Regions from separate parts of the Homo sapiens genome. Here region 1 is linked to region 2. Evidence: promoter capture Hi-C in 16 types of primary human blood cells and fetal thymus (Javierre and others, 2016). All regions are on one chromosome and are shown on one strand. Each heading gives the region's core, a stretch centred on a gene start or on the middle of the fragment in contact. The rest is flanking DNA. Distances are from core to core; before and after follow the strand shown. Region 1 holds the start of TDP2 (tyrosyl-DNA phosphodiesterase 2). Region 2 holds the start of H2BC3 (H2B clustered histone 3).

Region 1 (5,566 bases), core at 2,602-5,101, 1.4 Mb before region 2:
CTACCTCATAAAACTGTAAACACAACCCCTACTTTCCTCAACAGGTGGACTGTCATGGGTGATGTATGGGGAGAGCATGATGGTGTCATTAATCATAGCTTATACTTACTGAGCTCTATATGCCAGGCACAATTCCAAGTGTTTTACATCTATTAGCTCACTTAATCCTTACAACAACCCCATGAGGAAGGGGTTGCACAGATAAAGAAACTGAGGCAGAGAGAGGTTACACAGTTACTAAATAGCACAGGTAGACTCAGAACCATATTACTATCCCCACTGCACAAAGAAATTGAGGCAGAGAGAAGTTACACAGTTACTAAATAGCACAGGTGGACTTATAACCTTTGCATTTTGGCTCCAGAGTCCATGCTCTTATTCACTATGCCATCCTTTCCTCCTCTGTTTCATTGTAATCCAATTCCATATTGATATAGTTTGGATGTTTGTCCCCTCCAAATCTCATGTTGAGATATAATCCGTAATGTTGGTAGTGGGGTCCAGTGGGAGGTGTTTGGGTCATGGAGGCAGATCCCTCATTAATGTCTTGGTGCTATCTTCACGATACTGAGTTCTTCTTGCAAGATCTGGTTGTTTAAAAGTATGTGGCACCACCCCACCCCCTTGCTCCTGCGCTCTCCATGTGATACCTGGGCTCCCCTTTCCCTTCTGCCATGATTGAAATCTTCCTGAGGCCCAGCAGAGGCTGGGGCCATGCTTCCAGTAGAGCCTGCAGAACTGTTAGCCAATTAAATCTCTTTTCTTTATAAATTACCCAGTCTCAGGTATTTATAGCAACACAAGAACCTAATACAAATATCTCTGCAATTTATGCAACACCCACAATATTTAATATTTAATGCAGCAAGAAAAACCAGGCAACTGTATTAAAAATTTCCTTTTGGAAAAATGAAAAGGGAAATAAACTCTAAAACGTTGCTGTACAGAAATACTAAGGGAACAGAAAGGGACTGGCAAACTTTAGGGGCATGATTTGTTGACTTCATTCCTAAGCAGAGGAGGAAGTGCTTTTGTCAGTATATCTGGTGTCTTAGGTTTTATGTGTTAGGCCAGTGCTCCTCAATTTTAAATCACCTGGAGATCTTGTCAAAATACAGATTCTGATTCAGTAGGTCTGGGTGAGACCTAAGATTCTGCATGTCTAACAAATTCCCGAGTAGCAGTGGCACGCTGCTGGTCCAGAGTCCACACTCTAAATAACAAGGCTCTGGGACACGGGCTTTCAATGCTGGCTCTGCATTAGAATTACCTGCACAGCTAATAAAAAAAAAAAAAAAAGCCAATAAGGAATAATGGGCCCCACTCAAGACTAATGAAATTAGAATCTCTGGTTTTTTTTTTAAATTCCCCAGATAATTCCAATATGCAGCTAAGATTCAGCATAGCTGTTTTAAGAGGATTTCCCTTGTCTCTCATCAGAGACACTGAAGATAGATTCTAATGTAGGGGACTAAATCACTTTAGTGTTCAATTTCAATTTTTGTTGATATCCCAGGAATTCACTCCAGAATTGAGATTCCTGCGCCATTCATTTAAGACAGCCAATGCCCTTGCTCAGCAGGGTTGAGTTTTTCTGGTCATAAAATCTTCCAATCAATTTTTTTTTCCCTTTCATTTTTGCTAAAGCCAACATCAAAAATCTAATCAGGTCACAGGCCTTAGAAACACGCTGAAGTTTGCCCCTTCCCCATTTTTCTCTCTTGAGCAAACTAAACTTTAAAACCTCACTCTCATTCATACTTGACCTGAGTTCTGAGAGACAAGAGACCACAGCCTAATCAACACCTTTGCTTGTTTTTGCCAATTTACCATTCCGGGGTAAGAGAATCCTAATAGCCATGACACCATTGATCAGCTTGATCCGCATCTTTTCTGAGGGCCTATTACAGGAAATCCACTTATTTTGTTACTATTTATTGGTTACAATATAGTCTGTTGCAACCAACAGACATTAACTCAGGTTGGTTTGACCAAAACAGGAGAATTTATAAGGAAACAAACATGTCACAGAGCCTGGTACAGAAATACAGCCATGTTTAAGGAAGGGCAGTTAAGGGCTTTCTCTCAATCCTACACTTCAACTTCCCTCTGCTTCATTGTCTCTCTGCAGACCTCTGTTCTCAGCTTCTCTGTACACAAAAAAAGATATGTATGAATCCTCACAGGTGCTAAGTTAACATGTTACAGTTCCAGCTCCATAGGAAGACTCAGACTTGACTCTCTTGGTCCTAATTCTGAAACCAAGGAGAGGATCTGACTGGCCAGTTTGAGCTAGGCAAACACCTCCTAGTCCAACTTGCTCTGGTTAGTAAAACGGGAGCCAGAGACAAATCACTGTGGGTGAGTAAACAATTCCCCAACAAGAGGCAAGACAGAGAAAGGAACCTAAAGAAAATATCTTATCACATCTGTAAGCCAGTGTAGCTGAAAAGACCAAAGGGAAAATAAAGTCTCCACTATGAACAGTCAATTTTACAGGTTGTACATATAGCTGGGAGAATTTTATACATTCAGTAAATATTTATTGGGAGCTTATTATGTGTCAAATGTTGTGTCAGACTTTGGGAAATTAACAATGTACAAAACAGATACTCCTTACTAGATGTGCAGTCTAGTAGGAGACATAAAATAATGAACAGCAATTATAATACGGACTAAGGTATTGTAACAGGGGTCATGCAGGATGCTATAAGAGTACCTAAAAGGGGACTCTTACCCAGACTTAGGACATCAGGAAAAGCTTCCTAGAGATAAATCATGTCTCAGCTTGGGGCTTTAAGACAAATATTAGCAAGGAAGGGAAAAGAAAAAAATTCCAGGCACAGGTAATAAAGATCTTTACGAAGTTTCAAAGACAGGAGAAAATGACCCGTTGGAAAAAAGTAAAAGTTTGATAGGCCTGGAACCTGGAAAGGCAGGTTCTAAGTTATGGAGCCAAATAGTAGAGGGCCTTGTAAGGCAGCTACACTTTTTAAGTGCAGGAACTGGAGAGGGGCACTGAAATAACAGGAGTAGGTGTGCATTAAAAAAAAATAACAACAACAACAAACCTGTTATTCTGGCCGGTCAGCCTAGGGCCTAGAATAAATAAACAATACAGGAAGCAAGGAGACTTCCAAGTTGCCATTTTTCGATAGAAGGTTTAGCCTTCGTTCATTTGTTTCAAACCTCTCGCTTACTTATTTCCTTTCATTTGAGTTAAACATTACATTTCCATCTTTTCCTCCCTGGACCCCAAATCACGTTCGAAGCGACAGTCTGGTGCAGTGTTAGATCCGCTGCTGGGGCGCAACTCCGCGCAGCAGCAGCAACGCAAGCCCTGCTCCTCTGGCTACGCAGCTTGGAGATCTGCCTCAGCATCGTCCGCCCAGCTCCACGGCAGGTCCCAGGACGCGCAGGGCTACCTGGTATCAAACTGCCTCCGTGCGGACTGGCTCCCGCTCCCCTCATCACTTACTAGGTCTTGGGCTCAGAGATGGTTTCAGGTCGGCGTTCCAAGGCGCTCTCCTCCACCGGAGGCTCGAAGTAGGAGTTCAGAGCCCTCTGAAAAACAAAGGCACAAGGGATGAGGTTTGTGCGCTCCACCGACCTAGGTAATGGAGCCGGAAGCGAGGACAGCGAAAGCGTACTTCCATCTCCCAGTCGTTCTCGGCCAGGAAGCACTGAGCCACTGCGGCATCGCAGCTTGCGACCGAGGCAAACTCCACACACAGAAGTCGCCGCTTTTTCACCTCAGGCTCGCCCTCTTCCTCCGCCGCCTCCCTCCCGCCCTCCAGGCAACTCCCCAACTCCATCTTCCTGCCGCCTCTGCACCGCCCCTTTAAGCGGAACAGGAGGCCAACGCGCGGCTCTGCGCAGGCGCCTGTGTCATGGCGCTCCCGCATCAACCGCCCGGCGGGGAAATGCGCTGCTCTCGGAAAACTGGTGCAGCTGCGCCGCAAGGGAGCCGCCGGGGCGGTGGGTGCGAAGCGCGCATGCGCGCTTCGTCACAAGGGTGCGAGGAAAGTCAGTGAGCAAATCGCGGACCACCGGGGCTGCCAGCTCGCCTGACTCCCGGCCTCTTGCGCTCCTAGGGGCGGAGAAGGGTGCGGGCTCTTCGCCCTTTGTGTCCTCCTTCTTTCACTAACTTCTGGACTTTCCAGCTCTTCCGAAGTTCGTTCTTGCGCAAAGCCCAAAGGCTGGAAAACCGTCCACGATGACCAGCATGACTCAGTCTCTGCGGGAGGTGATAAAGGCCATGACCAAGGCTCGCAATTTTGAGAGAGTTTTGGGAAAGGTATGGGAAAGGTAGGGGAGAAGCCGTGGCTTCTAATGAAGGAAAAGAAAGCACCGTGCTTGGTGCCGTTGTGAGCTTTGAATAATTATCTCTTGTTAGGTTGTGTTCTAGTACGCCTGTAAATTCACCTTAGTAATAATGATTATTACTTTAATGGAGCCCCTAAATATGCTGGGTCGAACGCGTAAGTTCTCTATCTAAACATAGATAAGTATGGTTATGACTCGTGGAGACAGTTCCAAGGCTGGGAGGGACTTTGGAGTTTGATCCTTCAACCAACAAACGTCTGCATTGCTCCAGAGAAGAGTAAGAGAAACCTCTGCATTTAAGGCACATTACAGTCTAATTCTCTAGGCTCTAGAAGATTAGAAGATAAATAATTGCAATAAGGTACAAAAGCCAAGTGCTTGGTAGAGTGGTGAACGAAGGGAGAAGTTGTTCCTCTGTAGTGGTTTGGGAAATTTCTCAAAGGCACCCAACTCCTGAAGAAGTAAGTTAGCCCTTGGAGGAAGACTGAGTGCTTTTCTGAGACCAGCACTCACAAAGCCCGAAGGTGTTTGTTTGTTTTTGTTTTTTTAGGATGAGGTTTCGCCCTTGTTGCCTAGGCTGGAGTGCAATGGCGCGATCTCGGCTCACTGCAACCTCCACCTCCCTGGTTCAAACAATTCTCCTGCCTCACTCAGCCTCCCGAGTGGCTGGGATTACAGGCATGCGCCACCATGCCCAGCTAATATTGTACTTTTAGTAGAGACAGGGTTTCTCCATGTTGGTCAGGCTGCTCTCGAACTCCCGACCTCAGGTGAAACGCCTGCCTCCGCCTCCCAAAGTGCTGGGATTACTGGTGTGAGCCGCCACGCCAGACCTTGAAGGTGTTTGTTGTTGTTGTTGTTTTGAGATGGAGTCTTGCTCTGTTGCCCATGCGGGAGTGCAGTGACACGATCTCGGCTCACTGCAACCTCCGCCTCCTGGGTTCAAGTGATTCTCATGCCTCAGCCTTCCAAGTAGCTGGGATGATTACAGGCATGCGCCACCAAGCCTGGCTAATTCTTTATTTTTATTAGAGACAGGGTTTCATCATGTTGGTCAGGCTGGTCTCAAACTGCTGACCTCAGGTGATCCACCTGCCTTGGCCTCCCGAAGTGCTGGGATTACAGGCATGAGCCACCATGCCCCGCCAAAAGCAGGGATTTACTGAAAATGAAAGGACACTCCTGTGTTTGGGGTGTGGAGCAGCAGCTCAGGGGCCCTAATACCCCATTGAAGTCTCCT
Region 2 (5,321 bases), core at 23-2,522:
GTGGATGCCTTCCTCCTCTTACTTTCGGGAATGTCCTGCTCCGTCTATGGAGTAGTTGTCGTTTCACCACTTTACTTTCTTAGTAAACTTGCATTTACTTTGCACTGCGGACTCACCCTGAACTCTTTCTTGCGCGGGATCCAAGAACCCTCTCTTGGGGTCTGGATGGGGACCTCTTTCCTGTAACATATTTCTGGCCACCACAGAAGGGACTATAGTACAGAAACCCTGACCCAACAGCTACCTTTGGGTAAGTGTTGGAGTTCTGTAACAAAGGAAGAAGGCAGGCAGGCAAAAAATTTATGAAAGAACATACGACAAAATAATTTCTGCTTCAAAACTTCATATTTTTTTAATTTTTTTTTTTTTTTTTTTTTGAGACGGAGTCTCGCTCTGTCACCCAGGCTGGAGTGCCATGGCGCGATCTCGGCTCACTGCAAGCTCCGCCTCCCGCGTTCACGCCATTCTCCTGCCTCAGCCTCCCGAGTAGCTGGGACTACAGGCGCCCACCATCACGCCCAGCTAATTATTTTGTATTTTTAGTAGAGACGGGGTTTCATCGTGTTAAGCAGGATGGTCTCCATCTCCTGACCTCGTGATCCGCCCGCCTCGGCCTCCCAAATTGCCGGGATTAAAGGCAAGAGGCACCGCGCACGGCCCCGTCCAAGTTAACCTTGGCTCTAAAACTTGTCTTCGCTAACATTCCAGTTGATCCTCTAGAACTGAAACAGAATAGCAGCAGCACCACCTTAAGAAATTGTGGTTATAGCTCTCCTTGTGACAAAGTAGGTGGCTCTGAAAAGAGCCTTTGGGTTTGGAAGTGCTTACATAAGCACTTATTTAGAGCTAGTGTACTTGGTAACTGCCTTAGTGCCCTCGGACACAGCATGCTTAGCCAGCTCCCCAGGCAGCAGCAGGCGCACAGCCGTCTGAATCTCCCTGGAGGTGATGGTCGAGCGCTTATTGTAGTGAGCCAGGCGAGAAGCCTCGCCCGCGATGCGCTCGAAGATGTCGTTGACGAAGGAATTCATGATCCCCATGGCCTTGGATGAGATGCCGGTGTCGGGGTGGACCTGCTTCAGAACCTTGTACACATAGATAGAATAGCTCTCCTTGCGGCTGCGCTTACGCTTCTTACCATCCTTCTTCTGCGCCTTAGTGATAGCCTTCTTAGAACCCTTTTTAGGGGCTGGAGCAGACTTAGAGGGTTCAGGCATTGCTATTCCTAAACAGAATAGAAAAGCTACTAACACTCTCCACTACAGAGTAGTACAGAGAACAGTTCAGAGCCCATGTATTTATAGTCCTGAGATTCAAATGACGGTTTAAGATTCCTCACTTCTGATTGGACAAAAGAAACACGGTTTCACTGAGGGGTGGGGTTTATGCAAATATGGAATTTATGTTATCTTTTTCTATTGGATAAAGCACCAAACATAATTGACCAATAGGATAGCTTCCTATTGCAGCCTTGCAGTTTGTATAAAAGGATTTGTTCAGGCGCCATTCCAGCTTGCTTGTCTTTCACAGTTTTCCGCTGCTTTCATAGGTCGCTATTTGCGGACGTGGAAAATGGAGCTAAAGCAAAAACTTGTTCGTCGCTACCGGGCTTGCAGTTCCCAATAGGGCAGAGTCCGTCATCTTTTTCGAAAGGGCAATTATTTTGAGCCGGTCGGAGCCGGTGCGCCAGTGTACTTACAATACCTGGCCGCCGAGATCTTAGAACTGGTGGGCAGCGCCATACGTGACAAGACCCGCAGCATCATCCCCCGCCACCTGCAGCTGGCCATCCGAAACGACGAGGAGGTCAACAAGCAGCTGGGCAACGTCACTATTGCTCAGGGAGGCGTCCTGTCCAATATTCAGGCCGTCCTGTTGCCAAAATAACAGAGCCACGATAAGGCCAAGGTCAAGTAAACACTCAAATCAGAAAACGTAGCTTACACTTGAAACGGCATTTTTCAGAGCCGTCCATAGTTACACAAGAAAGGATGATAACTTGCTTCTGTTAGGGTATTTTTTGCTTTTCGTTTGGATTGGTTTGTTTTGAGACAGTCTAGTTCTGTCACCCAGGCTGGAGTGCAGCGGCGCGATATCGGCTTACTGCAACCTCCACCCCGCCGCTTCACGCGGTTCTCATGCCTCAGCCTCCTGTGTACTTGGGATTACAGGCGTCTGCTACCGCGCCCAGCTAGTTTTTGTATTTTTATGCGAGACGGGGTTTCACCATTTTAGCCAGGGTTGTCTTGAACTCCTGGCCTCTAGTGATCGTCCCATCTCGCCCTCCCAAAATGCTGGGATTACAGGCGTGAGCCACCGCCCCCCTAGCCTAATGGTGTTAAAAAGTTAAGTTTCGAGAAAATAACACCTTCCTTTAGAAAGTACATTTTAGAGTATACAAAGTGAAACTTAAGGCCAACCAAAATAAGACATTTTGAGAACAGGCAGGGTGGGAATGTGACTTGGACTTAGAAAACAAAGGGCAAGGAAACTTGCTGTTCGCCAGTAACAAAATAGCATGGAATCTCATTCTCTGAATATAAGCGTTATTTCCCGACATGAGTCTGAACGTTTCTGGTGGTTTAGTGAGTGTTCACCAGCATTGATAACTTGCGAGACTGTCAGGAATGCAGAATTTCAAGTCCCACTCAAACTTACTGAATCGGAATTTACATTTTAAAAATCCTTAGATACCTTGTTATACACTCTGTTCTTTGGGACTGGATGAACTAGAATTTTAGACAATTTGTCGCTGCAGATAACTGAAACGAAAAGGACAGGATGGGCGGTGGGGCAACTCATCCAATAAGATTGTCTAGTAATGAACCAATCAGTCTGGTCACTCTTCAGCCAATGATTTTATCGCGCGGGACTTTTGAAATATTACAGGACCAATCAGAATGTTTCTCACTATATTTAAAGGCCACTTGCTCTCAGTTCACTACACTTTTGTGTGTGCTCTCATTGCAAATGGCTCGTACGAAGCAAACAGCTCGCAAGTCTACCGGCGGCAAAGCTCCGCGCAAGCAGCTTGCTACTAAAGCAGCCCGTAAGAGCGCTCCGGCCACCGGTGGCGTGAAGAAACCTCATCGCTACCGCCCGGGCACCGTGGCCTTGCGCGAAATCCGTCGCTACCAGAAGTCCACCGAGCTGCTGATCCGGAAGCTGCCGTTCCAGCGCCTGGTGCGAGAAATCGCCCAGGACTTCAAAACCGACCTGCGTTTCCAGAGCTCTGCGGTGATGGCGCTGCAGGAGGCTTGTGAGGCCTACCTGGTGGGACTCTTCGAAGACACCAATCTGTGCGCTATTCACGCTAAACGCGTCACCATCATGCCCAAAGATATCCAGCTGGCACGTCGCATCCGTGGGGAAAGGGCATAAGTCTGCCCGTTTCTTCCTCATTGAAAAGGCTCTTTTCAGAGCCACTCACAATTTCACTTAAAAACAGTTGTAACCCATTCGGTTGTCTATGTTAGTTTCCAGGAGATATAAAGGTGATAACTACACACAAGTTTTGTAACTGCAGACAAGTCTATCAGGCCTTTTCAACCGGTTTTACTGCGAGAAAACAAGCTGAGTTACTGTTTTGCCCTTGTTAAAAAATTCCTAGGGGTCTTTTTAGCATGTATATGTGTAAATACTTACATATTGAAAGGCTCCTGGGGACACCACCGTCACTCCTTTTAATCCACGTGACAATTTTAGTTCTGATGGCAGTATTATTAAAGCTATCATAAAGACAATGTGTGTGTAGTTACCTAAGTCCACAAAAACAATAGCTGACCCCAAAATTCAGTATTGGTTTTGGGCTGCTGGAGGTGGAGTCAGAGCTCAGGTGGAAGAAACTGGCCTCAGTACACACTGCCAAAAGTCCACTAAATAGATTTATGTAACAAGTACACAAGACTTGCGTATGACCATCCAAAGATTATGCGGTCATCCTTATCCAGGGAATTTGAGAATGAAGGGTGGCAACTGCAAAGCTCTTTTACCCATGTCCTCTTTTAATAAATATTTAAAAATATTCAAATGCTGATTTCATCCATTTTCTAAATATATTAGTATACTTAACTGATGGGGTAGATCAAGGTTTTCTGGGGATCAAACCTTTTACAACTTGTTAACTATTAAAAACTATAATGTAAAATTAAAAATGCAAAAGTACTGCAGACTGTAAATATAAATTTATAATGGGAAAATAAAATCAAATTCCAATTTTATAAAAGCTGACAAAACAACAGCCATCACAAAATTCAGAAAATAGCATATTTTATTAACTTCTGAATATGACACTACCAAGTATATTTTCCTGTAGTTTTGACTGAATACTCTGATTCCATCTTCAGATCGAAATTATTTTGTAATGTTGTCTATAGGTAATGGAAATAGAATTCAATCTTTCCTCCAGGGTGGCTGATGATAATATGTTTTCTTCATAACTTAGAAGTATTTCAGTTTCAAAACACATTATTGGTAATGTCAAGTAAGTTTTTAGGATTGTTTTCAAATTTGGAAAATCCTCTGTTAAGCTCCTTTCACATGTAAGTTGTAAACTTTGTAAGAATTCTTTCCAGACTAGCTTCTGGCTCTATACGTTTCTACTCTCCACTAGACACTCACTCTCAGTGCTGGGAATGTGTTTTGAATACTTAGATGTCATAACATTTTATCTAGACCTGCATCTTGCCAGGAATTTAGGTGAGTTATTCCAGTGAGCAGTAGGAACATTCCTTGAAGCCATTCTTTTTTTTTTTTTTTTGAGACGGAGTCTCGCTGTGTCTCCCAGGTTGGAGTGCAGTGGCGCAATCTCGGCTCACTGCAAGCTCCGCCTCCCAGGTTCATGCCATTCTCCTGCCTCAGCCTCCCAAGTAGCTGGGACTACAGGCGCCCGCCAACACGCCCGGCTAATTTTTTGTATTTTTAGTAGAAACGGGGTTTCACCGTGTTAGCCAAGATGGTCTCGATCTCCTGACCTCGTGATCCGCCCGTCTCGGCCTCCCAAAGTGCTAGGATTACAGGCGTGAGCCACCGCGCCCGGCCTCCTTGAAGCCATTCTTACGTCAGATTGGCTGGCAACGAATGAAGTACACATGATCACATATGCAAATCACGTAACTTATTATCCCCATACTAGATACATCTTCAACTAAACTTTCTCTTACTCAAATTCCAAATATTTTCATCAGGATTCTAACATAATCAGACAATGGTGATTTTAATAAAAAGGAGGATTGAGTGAAAATAGCAGCCTGAACCATCCGTGATTAAAGTACCTTAATACTGCAAATTTTAAAATCAGAGAGAGAGAGAGAGACAAACTA

Evidence for each region. The method cuts DNA at HindIII sites, captures the fragments that hold promoters and counts their contacts. A CHiCAGO score of 5 or more calls a contact.
Region 1: the fragment with the promoter of TDP2 here is called in contact with the fragment with the promoter of H2BC3 in region 2 in 1 of 17 cell types (M1 macrophages); the score reaches 6.7 in M1 macrophages.

The regions. Positions count from the first base shown.
Region 1 is chr6:24,663,048-24,668,613 of GRCh38, forward strand. TDP2 (tyrosyl-DNA phosphodiesterase 2) reads right to left here and starts at 3,852. Exons shown (of 7, transcript NM_016614.3): 1 at 3,651-3,852; 2 at 3,479-3,564. The coding sequence starts at 3,815. It overlaps ACOT13 (acyl-CoA thioesterase 13), which reads left to right and starts at 4,030. Exons shown (of 3, transcript NM_018473.4): 1 at 4,030-4,297. The coding sequence starts at 4,217. RefSeq lists enhancers at 2,898-3,570, 3,571-4,242, 3,774-4,068. The HindIII fragment of the contact is 8,130 bases long and covers 2,760-5,566 here.
Region 2 is chr6:26,042,441-26,047,761 of GRCh38, forward strand. H2BC3 (H2B clustered histone 3) reads right to left here and starts at 1,273. Exons shown (of 1, transcript NM_021062.3): 1 at 787-1,273. The coding sequence starts at 1,217. The coding sequence ends at 837. H3C3 (H3 clustered histone 3) reads left to right here and starts at 2,944. Exons shown (of 1, transcript NM_003531.3): 1 at 2,944-3,429. The coding sequence starts at 2,971. The coding sequence ends at 3,381. It also overlaps the pseudogene H2AC5P. RefSeq lists enhancers at 1,517-1,756, 2,987-3,306. The HindIII fragment of the contact is 16,277 bases long and covers 1-5,321 here.